Linked DNA regions of Homo sapiens: regions 1, 2, 3 and 5 are each linked to region 4. The links are contacts of gene promoters, found by promoter capture Hi-C in human tissues and cell types (Jung and others, 2019). All regions are on one chromosome and are shown on one strand. The core of a region is centred on a gene start or on the middle of the fragment in contact, and the rest is flanking DNA. Distances in the headings are between cores, read along the strand shown.

Region 1 (3,253 bases), core at 385-2,884, 1.1 Mb before region 4:
TGGCAATATAGCGAGACCCTTTCTCTAAAAACAATGTTTAGAAATTAGATGGGCATAGTGGCACATCCTTGTGGTACCAGCTACTTGGGAAGCAGAGGTTGGAGGCTTGACTGAGCCCAGAAGGTCGAAGCTTCAGTGAGTCATGATCATACCACTGTACTCCAGCCTGGGTGACAAAGGAAGACGCTGTTTCAAAAAAAATTTTTTTAATTTATATGGTGATTCCTAGAATAATTAAACATAGAATTACCATATGATCCAGCAATTCCAATTCTGGGTATAAACTCAAAATAATGAAAAGTAAAAATGTAAACACATTTATACACCCATAACAGCATTATTCACAAAAGCCAAAAGCTGGAAAAAAACCCCAACGTCCATCAAAGGATGAATGGATAAACAAGATGTGTTATATACATACAATGGAATGTTATTCAGCCTTAAAAAGAGAATGAGATTCTGATACATGCCACAACACGGATGAACCCAGAAAACGTGCTAAATAAAATGAACCATGCACAAAAGGGCAAATATTGTATGATTCTACTTATGCTATATCTAGAAAATTCATAGAGACAGAAAAGAATATAGTAGTTCCCAGGGACAGAGGGGGGCAGGTGGAAAGGGGAGTTATGTAATGGGTACAGAGTTTCTGTTGGGGGTGATGAATAAGCTCTGGAGATGTGATGATTGGGACGGCTGCACAATGATGTGACTATACTTAATGCCACTGAACTGCACACTCGGAATTGTTAAAATGGTAAATGTTATGTTATGTATATTTTATTGCACGCAAAAAGTCTTATTTAGAACAGTTCAACCCAGCAGGAGAATCTGTTCTGCTCCTGCTGACAGGGAGCAGGGGCAGGGAAGGAGCTTCCTCCCAGAAACTCCAGCCCAGGCAGCCTCCCCAGTGCTGCTCGGCACTTTTAATTACCACTAGCGTCCGACTGTTCCTCAAAGTCTCAACTGGGGGCTGTGTCAGTTGGCCCCTGCCACATCCTGATTGCCTTGCAGAAACTGCCTTCCTGGGCCATAATTGTCTTTTCAGATTACCTGGGTGCACGGACGGTAATCATTTGCTTGAACGTGATTGTGTCCTCAGCATGACACTAGAGGCTGGGCATAATAGAGCGTGAATAGAATTCAGGTGACTTGAAATTTGGTTTCCCCAGTTGACTTTTTCCCCACCCCACTCCCCATCCCTTCTCAGCTTCTCTGGCACATTGCAGCTTTCACTCCTTTGACAATATGGGCCGATTCTCTGGGTAGAAGTGGCATCTTGGTGCTCATTTGCATTTTCTACTGATGACATCCATATCAGAAGAAACCTGTCCATACTGTAGATCAAAATGATTTTTTTCCATCCTTAGCTGCCAGAACAATTCTTATCACTGAAGATCAAATATATTCCATGAGCTCATATATCATCATTACCTACAATACAAATTCTGAAATCCAAGCAGACCTGGCAATTTTATTGATGTTCAGAGCGGAACAGAGCCCAGGTCACCCTGAATCAGTTGCACTGCCTTTGCCTTGCTGACAGCAACAAACATGTCACTGACAATATTACCAAAGAAAAGATGACTCGGTAAGTTCCATGCAGAAGGTAACTTGTCAGTGACAGGGGTGGGATATTTTTATCCTTATAACTCAGTGCTAATGAAATTGGTGGGAAGAACATCTGACTGAGAATGTGTCCCCCAGGGAGCAGGGAGAAGCAGAAAGCACGGGAGTCGGCCTCTTTTCAAAGTCATTTTTCTCAATACTGTCATGATTTAATCAGGTGGTCTTAACAAGAGCTGAGGAGTGGAGGACCAGAAGCAATAACCAGTAAGGCCAGTTTTGTCATTCTCAAGCATGGCCTGTGGACAGCTCTGTAAGGCATGGACAATCTGTCATGCCTGGATCTTGGTTTTCTCATTTGTGCAGTGGAAAGAATCACACTATATGGTCCTTTGCTATTTGGAGGATTAAATGCTGTTTGTCAAGTGATTTGAGATCTAAGAATAGAAAGAATTATAATACAGGCCCATCTCACTCTCATTTTACAGTTGTTAGCAATTATTGAGGTATGGAAAGAAAGATGCCCAGCCACGAGAGGTTACCATCTGCCCTTTACTGGCATTTGGGGAAGGAAAGGAAATTAGAAAAGAAAAAGAAAATGTCAGTATATCAGAAGAAGATGAAGGGAAGGAGATAGGGTAAGACATTGTGCCAGTGGTCCCCAAGACCACCCTCAGGTTTGATGATTTACTAGAAAGACTCACGAGGCCCAGAAAAGCAGTTACACTCATGGTTATGGTTTATTACAGCAAAAGGATATGGATGAAGCAGCAAAGGAGAAAGATACATAGGTCAGATTTTAGGAAAGATGAGGGACAGAGCTTCCGGTTATCCTCTTCCGGTGGAGTTGCATAGACAGTGTTTAATTCTCTCAGCAACAATGGGTGACAACATGTACTAAGTATTGCCAAACAGGGAAGCTCACCTCAGCCTTGGTGTCCAGTGAGTTTTATTGGGAACCAGTCATGTAGACAGGTAGTGCCCATAGGACTGGCCTTAGCTACTCAGTCTCCAGCTTCCCTAAAAGGCCAAACTGACACAGCATGGTCCACAGCCTCAGGTATACAAAAGCATGCATCTACCATAAGGAACATTGTCAGCATAAACTATCTGGTGCGGCCCTAGGCCCCGGGTATACAAAGACAAACTTATCAGGCAGGATATTCCAAAGGCTCAGAGAATATCTTGCAGCCGCTGGTCAAGAGCCAGTCCTTCCTTTGAAATGTGCTGGGTTTGGGGTCTGCTACACAAACGTGAAAAGAAGTGAAATCCACATTCCTTCCACCTGCTCTCACTGAGGACAGAACTGTGACTGCCTAACAGGTTCACCTTGCTGGTTGCCTAGACAGAGCCAATTTATCAAGACAGGGGAACTGCAATAGAGAAAGAGTAATCCATGTGGGGATGGCTGTGTGGGAGACCAGAGTTTTATTATTACTCAAATCAGTCTCCTGAGCGTTTGGGGATCTGAGGTTTTAAGAATAATTTGGTGGGTAGTGGGGGCCAATGAGCAAGGAGCGCTGATCGGTCAGGTTGGAGATGAAATATTAGTGAGTCAAAGCTGTCTTCTTGTGCTGGGTCAGTTCCTAGATGGGGGCCACAAGATCAGATGAGCCACTTTAATAGATCTGGGTAGCAGCAGCTGATCCATCAAGTGCAGGATCTGCAAAATATCTCAAGCACT
Region 2 (3,486 bases), core at 712-3,211, 1.1 Mb before region 4:
CATAGGAACCCCAAAAAGTAAGTTCTTTTAGCTTGTCTCTTTTCCCAGAGGAAGAAACGAAATTTTAGAGAAATTAAAGCTGAATCATATAAAATTGCTAATGTTTGACTGTTTTTGACCCACAGATATGGCAATCTCATATCTCACCTGGTTCAACCTGGTAATGTGTCTGAGGTCACACAGCGGGCAAGTGTGGAGCAGAAATTATTCAAGGCATCGCACTCCAAACCCCACTAGGCAACGTGGCTTACTTCTAGCTAAAAGATGAGAGCAGGTAACCTTGGGGCCGAGATTATCAGACTAGTTGAAAAGTCACTGAAGGCAATCACATCAGGACACCTCAGAAAGTATTTTTTGTATAAAGTCAGGGGAGGCAACTTGATTCACTGAAAGCTAGCAATGGTTTTGGATTAAGTGGAGTTCTGAACATTTCATTTCATATTTGCCACAAAATTGCCAAAAGAGACTTCCTCTCTGAGTCTCATATTTTCCTGTTAAATGGGTATGATAACCATGGTCATCTGAAGGATACTTTGGAAGGGATACATAAGCTGAATTGTTCAGGAGAGAAGAGCCAATCAACATTTCTGGCAAGGAATGTCTAGGACCTGAGGAATGCTTCACAAAATGTCTGTCTTACTGTGTGTGTTTCACAGTGAGCAGGTCTATGAAAACCCGCCCCAAAGGCCAAGGGAGCTGAGAGGTTGAAGAAAGAGGCTGACAACTCCAGTTTCTCAGAAAGAAATATTTAATGGGGACTTATTAACAGAAGCAATGTCTTGGGCAGCCTTAAGATGGTGGATCCCCAAAACCTGCCCTCCAGAAAGCATCCTTTAAATAGCATGATTTTAGGTGAAAGGCATTAGCAGCTGATCACACTTCAGACTTTCTTGCAAAACACATGACCACTAGGAAAGTTAGATAAGCATCTTTATGAGGGCTTGTCTATACCACAGCCATTGTTTAAAGACCTTGCTGAATACCTTGGTCTCTGCAGGAATTAAACATCAGTTATCATGGTGGTTTCACTCCAAGATGTTGTCACTTTTGCCATGCAACAGGCTGGTTTCTTACAGCATGGAAGAGAACACTGGACTAGGCTCCTGTCAATATTCAGCAGAATGGATGAGCAGCCATTTTCTGTTTCTAGATTGTTTGCTCCTTCAGAGTTGGGAGATCTTTGATGATTCAAGAGTTCTGACATATTTTGGTGAGCCAGCTTGTTGTTAACATAAATCAGATGAAGTTGAAAGCCCACCTCAGCATCACAAGGTCAGTGGCTGTTGTCACTGGAAAAGCTCCTGAGGCACTTGCTTTCATAACTGTATTTACTAAAAAGAGCTTTTAAGAAACATTTATGTAAAAAGAACATTTCACAGGGTATATGCAGCCAGGCTGCAGATGTAAACGATAACAATTTATTTTGAAATTTGCTCTTTAATTCTGATGGATTTTCTAAGCCAATGATTCTGACTCCAACAGCTGCTGGGTGAGCAGTAGATACCTGGATAAATCAATTTGTTTGTTACCTCTAGAGTAGTGAATAATATGTCTTAGTTAGTGCAGTAAAGATTCCTGCCTTCAACATACAGAGCACCCAGGCGCAACTTGCATGTGATTGCAAATATTCAAATGAAATGTACAGATCCTGCAAAGGCTGAGTAATAAATCATGTGTCAGGCAAGCACCTTCCCATTTGCATGGATTTCGGTTGACTTAAAAGAGACAAGAAACAAACTAGGGGCCAGCACAACACAAAAGCCAACTCAGGATGTCTGTTACTGTGTGTGTGACAACGTGAGACCTGGCCTGGTTTTGCAAAAATTTAAATATAGGTTGATGTGGTCACTGCCTAGAGAACAGCATGATGAGAAGTGGGTCATAGAGTGTGCACCCCCAGGGTTTATCCTTCTGCCTGTATGCCTCTGGGTGAGGAGAATACGAGCCAAAAAGCCCCTGAAGGGAAATGGATGTGGAGAAGTCCTGCCCTTCTCCCCAAAACAGTATCTTGGAGTGGAGTAAGTGCTAGGAGAAGAGAAATGTAATCATTGTATGGAGGAGATCATAAAGCAATGGTCAATGAAAAGGAGGAAAACTCAGGAAAACAGAAAAAGGAGGTGAACAATCAATTAATAATTATTTTTATTAATTTAGTAATAATCTTTTACTAAATAAAAATTATTTTAAAATATTAATTTTAAATAACTTATTAACTTATTTTTATTTTTAAATTTTCTTCTTTTATTTTTTGTTCTTTTTCCTCTTTTTTCTTTTTATTCCTCTTTGTTTATTGATTTTTTGCAAACACCAACTCAAAGCAGAATTAATTAATTTTTTAATTGACAAAAATTGTGTATATTTATGGTGTACAACATTATGTTTCAATATATATATACATTGTGGAATGAGTAAATCAAGTTAATTAACATATGCCTTACCTCACATACTTATCATTTATTTCCAGTGAGAACACTTAAAATCTATTCTCTTAGTAGTTTTGAAGTATAAAATACATTGCTATTAACTACAGTTTCCATGTCATACAAGAGAAATCTTTAGTTTATTTCTCCTGTCTAATCGAAATTTTGTTGCTTTGGAACAGTATCTTCCTAATCCCCTCCTTCAAAGGAGTAGAATTTTCAGTAATAAGATATCAAGTTTTCAAAATGAAAACACTCATAAAACTAAAGAGAATGCCTGCATGACACAGTGAAGCAGAGCTTGCTCACTAGATGAGGAAAGCACCTATTTCATCATTTAACTTCAAAATCCTTCCAGATTTAATAGTTAGGATTTTAAACAGCTACATCTAGCTTTTCCTAGAAGTCTTGTTGCCTGTGAATGAAAGGGAGTTCTAATTTGGAAAATTAGATTTCTTCACCCCATCTCTGAAAGCTTCCCTGATATTTATTGGAGACCAGAAGCATGAGTTGAAGGGTCAGAGGATCTGTGCTTCAAATCTAAAGGTTTTGATACAAAATGAAAAAGTGTAGGAATATAGAAAAGAAATGACCAAAGGAATCAATGTTTACATTTTAAGTCTTTGGATATCTCCATGAGATTGATTCAGACGGTTGTAAACACGCAAAGCACAGTGAAAGTCTGTGTGCAGATGTTAAAACATGATTATTGGAAACCTATTATTTGGAAACCTATTATTCCAAGATCTGGGTGTTTAAAGTGGTCGGTGCGGTTTTGTTGGTTTTGTCTTTCTGGCTCCTTCTTAGGGACAGGGCAATGGTGAAATGTGTCCTCTTGTGGGATGTAAGGCAGTTTTGTTGTGGCAGAAATGGAAGGACTGGAAAAGGCTCCTACATAGAACAAGGAGTCACAACTCCCCATCTTCCACCTCATGCCACTTTGGTCAGATTGCTCAGGTATCTGGGTCCAAAAGTCAGACCGAGCAGCTTCCCCACCCATGGTGAATACAGAGTCAAAGTGAATCCATCATGTCCATTTTCAAAACAATATAAAACACATGCTGAG
Region 3 (3,266 bases), core at 405-2,904, 1.0 Mb before region 4:
GAGAAACGGAACCAATAGGATAGGAGAGAGAGTGGGGTGGGTAGGAAGGGGAAGGAATATTTTATAGAACTGGCTCCCACAATTGTGGGGGCTGGCAGGTTTGAAATTTGTAGGGAAGGCTGGCAGGCTAGAAACTCGGCTAAGAGTTAATGTTGCAGCCTTGAGTCCCAAATCCACAGGGCAGGCCAGCAGGCTGAAAATTTAGGAAAGATTGTAATGCAAAATTCCTTCTTCTTCAGGAAACTTGAGGCAAAATTCTTCCTTCCTTGGGAAACCTTGGTCTTTGCTATTAAGACCTTCAACCAAGGTCCACCCACATTATGGAGGGTAATCTGATTTACTTAAGGTGCACTGATTATAAATGTTAGTCACATCTAAAAACTACCCTTATAACAACATCTAGACTAGTGTTTGACCAAACAACTGGGCATCCTAGTCTAGCCAACTTGACACATAAAATCAACCATCACACTGCCCATTAGCCACAGGTGCACAAAGTTGGGGAGGAAACATTTTAGAAGCTGTGAATACAAATGTTATCTCCAACTGAGGAAAAATGTTGTTAACTTAGAGGCTATTTTTTAATGCACTGTCTAAATTTACGAAGAATGCGCTTAAATATGCCTTTTTAAATTTTGTCTTCTAATTTGCAAATAACCCATACCACCTCCCTCCTTTGTACCCAAATACTCCCTTCTCTGAACAAATGATTGCATCTGCCATTTCACCTTCTGGAATGCCCTTCCTCTTCCTCATGAAAGGCATTAATCAAGACACTTGTCCTCCACTACATTTTCCATGATGCCTCTCGTCTAGCTGCAGGCTTCCTAGATGCTCCACAACTCATAGAGCTATAGAACTTTAGAATTTGAAGGGAGGATACTTAGTAGCCAACATAGTCAAATTTCCTCTTTTTACCTCTAAGGAAACTGGAGGCAGTGACTCTCCTGAATTTGAGGTGAAAGCAGGCCTAGAATTCAGGTCTATTCTCTGCTAGCCTCAGGCTTTTATAGATAGGGTAGGCAGGGGAGAACCATTGCATATTGGAAATAAAACTATCCTGATGGAATAGATGAGATTCTGCCCTGGATATAACTAGTAGACCTTGACCAAGATTTTTAATCTCCTGGAATGCCAGTTTCTTAATTTGTTAAATGGCTTAAATCAGTGCTTCTCAAACATAGATAGGCATATGGATCGCCTGGGATCTTGTCAAAACAGACTCTATTTCAACAGGTATGGGTTGAGGCCTGAGGTTCTGCATTTCTTTTTTTTTTTTTTTTTTTTTTGAGATGGAGTTTCGCTCTTATTGCCCAGGCTAGAGTGCAATGGCGCAATCTCGGCTCACCGCAACCTCTGCCTCCCAGATTTAAGCAATTATCGTACCTCAGCCTCCCGAGTAGCTGGGATTACAGGCATGTGTCAACTCGCCCGGCTAATTTTTGTATTATTAGTAGAGATGGGGTTTCTCCATGTTGGTCAGGCTGGTCTCGAACTCCCAACCTCAGGTGATCTGCCTGCCTCTGCCTCCCAAAGTGCTGGGATTACAGGCGTGAGTCACTGCACCCAGCTGAGGTTCTGCATTTCTAACCAGCTTTCAGTTGCTTGCCTACACTACTGAGTGCCTGGATTTTCTTTTGAGTAGATGGGCACAGATGATCTCTAAGCCCACTTTGAGCTTTACAACTCTGCGATGTGGTGATTCTATGATTGGAGATGGCAGTGTCAAAGGCATATAAAATGGGCTGTAGGGAAAAAAAATACTAAATTTTACCTACACTTCTCTGTACACTTTTGCCTACAGTATTTTCTTCTACATAGGATCACCATATATTCTAATTTGCCTGAGAAAGTCTTGGCTTATGCCTGTTTCCCATTCTGATTAATCGTAGAGACCCTTTCACTATCAAAAAATGATATGGTCACTTATCTTCTAAGTTACTTTTTCTCCTTATCTGTGTCCACAGAATACAGAATGCATTAGATTCCCACCATTTGCCTATTTCAAGCCAAGGAAAAAAGTGTGTTCCAGATAGTTTTTTTACACAGTACGTCAGAACCCCATGATTTGTGAATTGCTGTTTTGTTTCCCTACTAACAGCATAGTCAGTTCAGGAATTTTTGGCAAGGGCCTTTTGCGTCCAGCCCGCCCAAGATGTGGGACCCTGGGAAAAACTGCTTGCTGTTTGTTTTGTGGTGACTGACAGCAAAGCTCGCTTGAAAAATTAAAAGCTACATGGAAAATACCTCACGGGTGATTTTTCCATTCCCTAGTCTCACAGAATCCTTGTCTGAGTGTACAGTTCCCAAGTTCAGGGGCACCTTCAGGCAGTGAACTTCGATGCCCACCTATCTCAAGGCATTCCTCAAAGCACTGCATGAAGGGTGGGGTTCAGCCCCAAACCGTAAACCCCTCACCTACTGTTTCTTTGTCTACTTTCTTTTTTTTTTTTTGAGATGGAGTCTCGCACTGTCTCCCAGGCTGGAGTGCAGTGGCACAATCTCAACTCACTGCAACCTCTGCCTCCTGGCTTCAAGTGATTCTCCTGCCTCAGCCTCCCAAGCAGTTGGGATTACAGGCGCCCACCACCACACCAAGCTAATTTTTCGTATTTTTAGTAGAGACGGAGTTCCACTATGTTGGCCAGGCTAGTCTCAAACTCCTGACCTCGTGATCCTCCTGCCTCGGCCTCCCAAAGTGCCGGGATTACAGGCATGAGCCACTGAGCCCAGCCTCTTTGTCTACTTTCTGTCTTGCATTGTATTTCTCCAAAGAATCCCAATCAAGGGATTATATTCCCAGAAGCTTTAATATCAATTATTATTTATCTTTTATTATTAGCTAGTGAGAGTCAATAATAGCTAGTGGCCTTTATTCATTTTTCTATTCATTTAATAACTATTTGCTAAGTGCCTACAGTGTGCTAAGAGAAGATTATTTGACAGCTGAAATTAAGAACTGGACACAGGTTTAGTCTGTGGATCTTAGTCCCTAACTGAAAGAAGATGGGAAAGAGAGAGGGTTGTTAGTGGAAAATTGAAGGGGTAATAAACGTGACAGCCTCTTGTTTTCTACAATTGATTCAGAACATAAGTGCCTATGCATAAAAAGGAGAAAGAGACACGTAATTAATATCGGTCACAAAGGATTAGCCCACTGCTGGGCCATCCAGGAGACCTTGACCACCTGTTTAAACCTGCAACTCAGCCCCTAACTCGGAACTCCAAATCTCTGTGATCCTCTATTTTTTCCACTGCGCTTGCCT
Region 4 (3,489 bases), core at 183-2,682:
TTGGGATTACAAAGCCAGTTTTTTTCATGTAATGTTACAGCAGTGAAAGATTGAGGGAGAGAAAAGGAGAGAAGCAGGAGTGTATCTGGGTGAAGAAGCGTGGCTCAGTGGCTATACAGTGAGACGCAGAGATTCCACAGAGCTGGGCTTGCCCACCTGTCGACCCCACTTTCCCCATGTGCTCGCCGCGGGATGACAACCACAACACTCCAGAACCACCCCCCTTCCGAAAGAGGGCGGGGTTACGCCTTCAGCCAATCAGGACCCGCGAGCCCCGGGTGTCCAACCTATGGGGTGGCTGTGGCCGTGCAGGGGGAGGACGTGGGGTGGTCTGGGAGGGGCCGCGTCCGTGGGAGGCTCGCACGTGTCGGGTCCGGAGAGGCGGGGAGGCGGCCGGCGTCCAGCGGCCGAGGCGCGGGCTCTGCACCCTGGCAGCGGCCGAGTCCGGCTGCCCCAGTGCCTCCTTTACCTCGCGTTGGGCCAGGCAGGGCGCGCTCCCGCCGACGAAGACCTGTCCAAGGTGTCCGAGCTCCCCGCGAGAGGGGACAGTCACGAATAACAACAGTACCCAGCGCAGACTAGGCGGGGAGGAAAGTTTCCGGCCCGCAGCAGAGCGGAGTCCGCCAAGGCTGGAGGAAAAGGGATGCAGAGCGGGAGGGTGAAAACCTGAAAGAAGAGGGCAGCGGGAACACTGTGTGGGCAGGAACGGGTCCCGGGGGCGACGCCCGCAGGGGGAGACGGGTGCGGGGTGCGCTGTCCAAGGTGCAGGGGAGGTGACTGGCGCGCGGCGGGCGCGGAGCCCGGAGCTGACACTGGCTGGCGGGCGGAGGGGAGAGCGGGGAACAGCTGTCTGGGGCGCTGGGCACCCCCGGGCGCGTAAAAGTGAGGGAGCTTGAGACGGGGCACGGCGGGGAAGGGCGTGGGGGCTGCACCGAAGCCCCCACGCGTCCACGCACCCCTCCTCACCAGCCTCACCTCTAGCTCCACTCCCCTCCCCCCTCGCCCACTCCCCTCTCAGTCTAGATCCAGGTGCCGTGGCGGGGGTGAGACCAGAGGACCCCGGCTCGGAGCCCGGACGCCCCAGGGAGGCTGCGGGCCCCGGAGCTGCTTACCTGGGGCCGCCGTATGGGGAGCGGAGGCAACCCGCTGCGCGGAGTGGGGCGCCGGGCGCGGCGCGGCTCCTCCTAGCCTCGGCGTCCTCCTCCTCCTTTGCTTCTCCCGGACTCTGTCCCGGGCACGGAGCTGGGAGACGCGGCCGGGCTGCAGTCGCCGTTCCCTCTGCTGCCGCCGCCGCTGCAGCAGACAGAGGACGCCCCGTGGCGGCTGGAAGCCTGTGTGAGTAGCGGCGCCCGGGAGAGCGGGGATCTGCTGAGGGGCGCTGGAGACTCCGCGGCTGGAGGCGCGCGGGCGTGCGCACGCGCGCCTGCGAGTGTGAGTGTATGGGTGCGCGCGCGCCCACGGGGTGGGGGAGTCGCGAGGGGAGGGGGAGAGAGGCCGAGAGATGCTCGTAGGGACCGAGGCAAAATTCTACGACCCCGGAAATCCGTAAACGCGGGGAAGGAGGATCGAACGCGTGTCTCGCTTGGAGAAGCTGCCCACGGGGCGGCAGCAGAGGAGGAGGGGAAGTCAGCGAGGCGCGCTAGGGCTCCGGATCCCAGCCCGGCAGAGCCGAGCGGAGCGCGCAGCCACCGATGCAGCAGAGGCGGCGCCCGCAGCCCACGGTCGCGCTGCCCCCTCTCGGGAGGGGCCGAGGCCGCTCGCTCCCGCCACCGCCGCCGCGGTCGGGACTGCTCTACTGGGAGCGGGGGAACCGAGAGAGGGACCGCACGGTTGCTACGGCGACCTTGGAGGGGCCGGGCCCGCTGAAGGGCCAAGAGAAGAACCCGGGCGCACGTGGCCGACTCCAGGCTGGAGCGGGCGTGTTACAGGATTGTGGGCTTGGGGTAGACGGTGGAATTGGGCCGCGTGGCCTGGGCAGATGATGCGGGGTGTGCGGCCCAGAGTGGCTCGGCCGGGGTGCGGTCAGCATTCAGGTTGGTAAGGGTGAGGGGATCCTAACCCCAGGTGACATGTTGCCTTTTTTTCCTCCTTGGAGGCTACTTTTTCTCAAAGTTACCCACTTCCCAGGTAAGAATGCCGGCCTCCTCTTTGTTAGGATTCAACTTAGCTGTGCAGGCATCTAAGCAGTGCCTCCTTAGAGTCAGGCTCGTCCAAGAACCGCTCCCACCACCTCCCCACACACACCCACATCCCCCGATCCTCCATCCCAACTACATTGTAATACTTCAGAAATAAATGTTTAAAGCACATTTACATTCTCTGCCTCTTAACAGATATATTGTCTTAGTAGTATACTTTTCCTTGCTTATTTTAAATTCTGAGTGGGATTTTATTCACACAAGCATTTCTTCAAGGGTCGTAAGGTCTGGGTAATACTTGAAATACCCTTTCTGGCAGGAATCCTCAATGCAGGGATTGTGTTTTGCACACTTTTGCATGCCTTCCAGTGCTTAGCATAGTACTCTGTACTTTGTGAGTTCCCTGTAAATGTTGAATGAATGACATTGTTTTCTAGCTTCACGTAACCTGAAGGCAAAGACTTGGATGCTGGGAAAGTCATTACCACCCCACTAGGCTTGCCTGATTTTAACTTATGCCATTTCCTTGTGTGTGGCTATTTTTCCCCCTGGCGGTCAGAACCCCAATGCAAAGAAAGAAAATAATACTTATCCATTGTGCACCCTTAACAAAGGATGCATGTAGAAGCACTCTGCAGGGACCCCAGTGGGATGCCCTGGGTGTGAGGGGGCCAAAGCTCAGAACCTAACCTCTCAAAATGTGAAAGTCAGTGTTCACCAGCAGTTTATACTGTCCCTTCTAGAGCAGAAGGATGGGGAAAACAGTTTTAAGAGAAATACACTTTTGTTTTTTGTTTTTTGAGACGGAACCTCGCTCTGTCACCCAGGCTGGAGTGCAGTGGCGCGATCTCGGCTCACTGCAACCTCTGCCTCCCGGGTTCAAGCGAATTCTCCTGCCTCAGCCTCCTAGTAGCTAGGATTACAGGCGCCGGCCACCACGCTCGGCTAATTTTTTTTTTTTTTTTTTTTTTTTTTTTTTTTTAGTTTTTAGTTTTTAGTAGAGACACAGTTTCACCATGTTTTCCAGACTGGTCTCCAACTCCTGACCTCAAGTGATCCGCCTGCCTCGGCCTCCCAAAGTGCTGGGATTACAGGCATGAGCCACCGCTCCAGGCCAGAAATACACATTTCTAATAGCTTATCAGGTACGCATTTTTCTCCTGTAAAGAGTAGTGTTCATGGACACTGACCAATACATGCAGGGTCACCCCAGACTGCTAATTCTGCTGTCTGGTGTAGCACCAAGTCCACATCCTTCGACCTCGGTATTTCTACAATCATCGTCTTAGAAGCAGAAGTCTTCAATTTTGCATTTCATGCTAAATTTCAATTCCTTTGAACTCAGGCCCGC
Region 5 (3,696 bases), core at 217-2,716, 1.5 Mb before region 4:
TTTAAGTCCAAGGCATGGCGGATGATCGTCTTCACTTGACACTGTGCTTTCCAGACCATGCCTAGAGTATTGTGTTTAGTTCCCGATACCATTTTACAAAGGACAGAGATACATGGAACCATCCACATCCATGACTGTCTAATGAGGCCAAGGAGCTAAAAATGTATTAAATGAGTTCAGTGAAAGACAAAAAGGCTGTTTGGCCTAAAGAAGGAGAGATGTAGGAGTAACCTCAAAACTGCCTTTAAATATATGAAGTGCTTTTAGTGGAGACAGATTAAAACCTGTGACCCTAGTGGAGGGGATGAGGTCCCATGAGGAGAAATTAGCAGTGGATTTCAGCTTGTGCTCTAAAAATTGGAGCTTTGCAATATGGGCGAGACCCCCTTAATGAAAAGGAGCATTTCTGGCCCTTGGAGAGGTTTCCACAGTGCTGGCTGATCACTCCTGCAAGTTTTGATAAGAAATCCAAACAGCTTATAACTTTGGATTAGGTGACCTTTGTGTTCCAACACGTCCTTTCCCACACACTACTTAATTTTTTCCACAGTCGTTTAGTGAAGTTGTTAAGAACCTGGGCTCTGGGGTCAAAAGAACTTGATTTAAAATCCCAGAGCAAAGGCCCAGGATGATGGTATCTTGGGGGATTTTCATTTTCTTCTGGCAGGTGCCTGGGGGCACAGCTAGTCTTGGAGCACCTTGATTTAAATTCAAGCTTTGAGGGTTTTGGATCCCTCTGGTGGCTTGATGTGCTGCATGTCCAGGTCAGGGCCTGTGTCTGGAAGGTGTAGCCCTTTGGGGTTACAAGTAGAGAGGGGATGGTTTATGAGAATCTCTTTGTTGGAGGGGGTGGGGAGAACTGACTTTTGCCTTTCTGGCCTTGTGAGTCTGCCAAAATACTATCCTGTATCACAGTCTTTTTTCCTTCAGGTTTGACAAATATTCTTAGGATGAAAGAGTGGCTTTGAATGCTCAGTGGTTTACTTCTTGGGGTTCTTTGCTTTTGCTAGATATTTGACCCATTGCATCCTCAATATCTTACTAGCTGTTTAAATGCTTTCAAGAAGGTGTTTCTTTTTTTTCTGAGACGGAGTTTCACTCTTGTCGCCCAGGCTGGAGTGCAGTGGTGCGATCTACATTCACTGCAGCCTCTGCGTCCCAGGTTCAAGCAATTCTCCTGCCTCAGCCCCTGGAGTAGTTGGGATTACAGGTGCCCGCCACCACGCCTGGCTAATTTTTTGTATGTTTAGTAGAGACGGGGTTTCACCATCTTGGCCATTCTGGTCTCAAACTCCTGACCTCAGGTGATCCACGCGCCTTGGCCTCCCAAAGTGCTGGGATTACAGGTGTGAGCCACTGGGCCTCCAGATGTTTCATATTTTATCCAACTTAATTACTTCTAATATTTTAATTTACATGAAGGACTTTTATTATTATTATTTTTTTTGCTTAGCTCCATGTGATTAACTGTTAATATCCTTTTAATTTTCTTTTACATTTTAATTTATCTTCTTGAAAGGGTTATATATGCATATGGTATTAAATTCCAAAAGGTATAAGAATGTATAGTGACAAGTATCCCTCTCACCACTCTCTAGCCACCAAGTACCCCCACCACCCCCAGAGATAACCACTGTTACCAGTTTCTGTTCCATCAGCACTGTGCTATACAGGACCTTTCAAAACTTAGATTGGCTTTTGTAACTTGTAGTTGGATACAAATCTGAAAGTTTCAAAAAACAGGAAATGACCAAATCATTTAGTAAGGATAGTGGTTACTTCTAGGGGAGAAGGAGGTACAGGAGCCTCCCATGGTGCCAACAATATTCTGTTTTCTTGACTTTGGATTGTGGTTAAACTGCCCAGATAGATTCTAAGCAATTCTGTGTATATATTTCACATCATGCATGTGTATGCACATGCACACACATCTAAAAAAAATCTGCAAAACTGATCATCTTGAAGACAACCAGAGAGAACAAATGGGTTACCTGAAAAACAAAATTGATTCACAGTAGTGTGCTCAAAGATGATGATAGAAGCCAAAAGGAAATAATGTCTTCAAAGTGCTGATTTTAAAAAAGTCAGTCTAGAATTTCATATCCTTCAAAACTGTTTTTCAAGAGTGAATGTAAATTTAAAGTAATTTCTAATAGATTGAAAGAGTTTACAATGAACTGTGCTGAAAAAAACTACTGAAGGATATATTACTTTTGTAAGAAGGAAATTGAGCTTATAAGGAAATAGCACTGTTTAAAATAAGAATTAAAATAGAAAATGAAAGAGAAAGAGTGAGCACCTAAAATGTAATGCAGGTTCATATAATAATTCCTGTTTACTCTCTATGGCAAGCATTTCCTATCATTGAATCCAGTATCAACCCTGTCATTATTATTTCTGTTTTTCATGTGAGAAGCTGAGGCTCAGAGGGGTTAAGTTTCTTACCCAATGAGCATAGTGGTAATGAATGCCCAGGTCTGGCAGGCTCCAATGCCCAAGTTCTGTCCATTGCACTACAATCTATCACCAAATTTAGAAACAGAAATATAAAAAGATGACAAAATCACTTGTAATAACACATAGTGTATTAGTCTGTTCTAACACTGCTAATAAAGACATACCTGAGACTGGGTAATTTATAAAGGAAAGAGGTTTAATTGACTCACAGTTCAGCATGGCTGGGGAGGCCTCAGGAAACTTAAAATCTTGGTGGGAGGGGAAGCAAACATGTCCTTCTTCTCATGGTGGCATCAAGGAGAAGTGCAGAGCGAAGTGGAGGAAAAGCCCCTTACAAAACCATCAGATCTCGTGAGAACTCACTATCACGAGAACAGCATGAGGGTAACCACCCCCATGATTCAATGACCTCCCCCCAGGTCCCTCCCATGACACGTGGGGATTATGGGAACTAGAATTCAAGATGAGATTTAGGTGGGGACACAGCCAAACCATATCACATAGATAACAATTATTTATATAGTAGTATATTTCTTTCCCGTTTTTACTCCCACATACATATTTTAAACAAGTGAAATTTCCCTTATTTCATAAATATTTGTCAAAAACATTTTAAAACCCCCAAACTGACCTTTGGCCTTTTCAAGTTTGGCAATGATGAATCTGGCCATTGTCATGGCTGGAAATATCTTGGTTGGGGCTCTTTGTTCTGACTGTTACATAGTCGGATTCTCTTTGTCTTCTTATGTGGTATTGCTTTGAGCTTCAGACTGATACAGCTGACAATCTTTACAAAGTAAGGATTTTAAGTAGATAAATTTTGAGAAGGACAACATGTAAAAAGGATCTCTGGGTGCCTTCCAGAAACCAGGCACAAGTTTTTATTATCTCAGCTTAACTATATGGTTTTCTTCTTTCTTTGCCTTCATTCTTTTGCTGCCTGTCAGAGCTGACAGCAATAGAGGCCATTTCATGCATGGTTTCCATGTCTCACAAAACATGGTCTGAAGAAAAAATTACCGAAAGAACAAATGCCCTTTTCAAGCTCTTGGTCCCTTTTTTCAGTTATTGGGCGGTCTTTTCCCATTGCCCTCTGTCTTTAGAGTCCAGTATGTCTAAAATCAAGCTCTTCTTGCCCCAGCACCTATTCCAGGTATCCTACCTACATTATGCTGGCCATTCAGGTGTAACACCTTCCAATGATCTCTGAGTATTATCTACCTCTTCCTCTCCATCTCG

What was found. Contacts are between HindIII fragments. The study calls those that stand out against the background at their distance.
Region 1: a fragment that was not itself captured here is called in contact with the fragment with the promoter of ENOX1 in region 4 in 1 of the 25 tissues and cell types used here (lymphoblastoid cells).
Region 2: a contact is called between a fragment that was not itself captured here and the fragment with the promoter of ENOX1 in region 4, in 1 of the 25 tissues and cell types used here (lymphoblastoid cells).
Region 3: a contact is called between a fragment that was not itself captured here and the fragment with the promoter of ENOX1 in region 4, in 1 of the 25 tissues and cell types used here (lymphoblastoid cells).
Region 5: a contact is called between a fragment that was not itself captured here and the fragment with the promoter of ENOX1 in region 4, in 1 of the 25 tissues and cell types used here (mesenchymal stem cells).

Annotation. Positions count from the first base shown.
Region 1 is chr13:42,672,049-42,675,301 of GRCh38, forward strand. No RefSeq gene overlaps it. Among named protein-coding and RNA genes, the nearest start is that of TNFSF11, 100 kb to the left of the region's middle. The HindIII fragment of the contact is 4,331 bases long and covers 1-3,253 here.
Region 2 is chr13:42,652,231-42,655,716 of GRCh38, forward strand. No RefSeq gene overlaps it. Among named protein-coding and RNA genes, the nearest start is that of TNFSF11, 80 kb to the left of the region's middle. The HindIII fragment of the contact is 5,098 bases long and covers 1-3,486 here.
Region 3 is chr13:42,759,047-42,762,312 of GRCh38, forward strand. No RefSeq gene overlaps it. Among named protein-coding and RNA genes, the nearest start is that of FAM216B, 21 kb to the right of the region's middle. The HindIII fragment of the contact is 3,460 bases long and covers 1-3,266 here.
Region 4 is chr13:43,785,540-43,789,028 of GRCh38, forward strand. It overlaps ENOX1 (ecto-NOX disulfide-thiol exchanger 1), which reads right to left and starts at 1,433. Exons shown (of 17, transcript NM_001347969.2): 1 at 1,113-1,433. The HindIII fragment of the contact is 9,406 bases long and covers 1-3,489 here.
Region 5 is chr13:42,327,173-42,330,868 of GRCh38, forward strand. No RefSeq gene overlaps it. Among named protein-coding and RNA genes, the nearest start is that of AKAP11, 57 kb to the left of the region's middle. The HindIII fragment of the contact is 4,917 bases long and covers 1-3,696 here.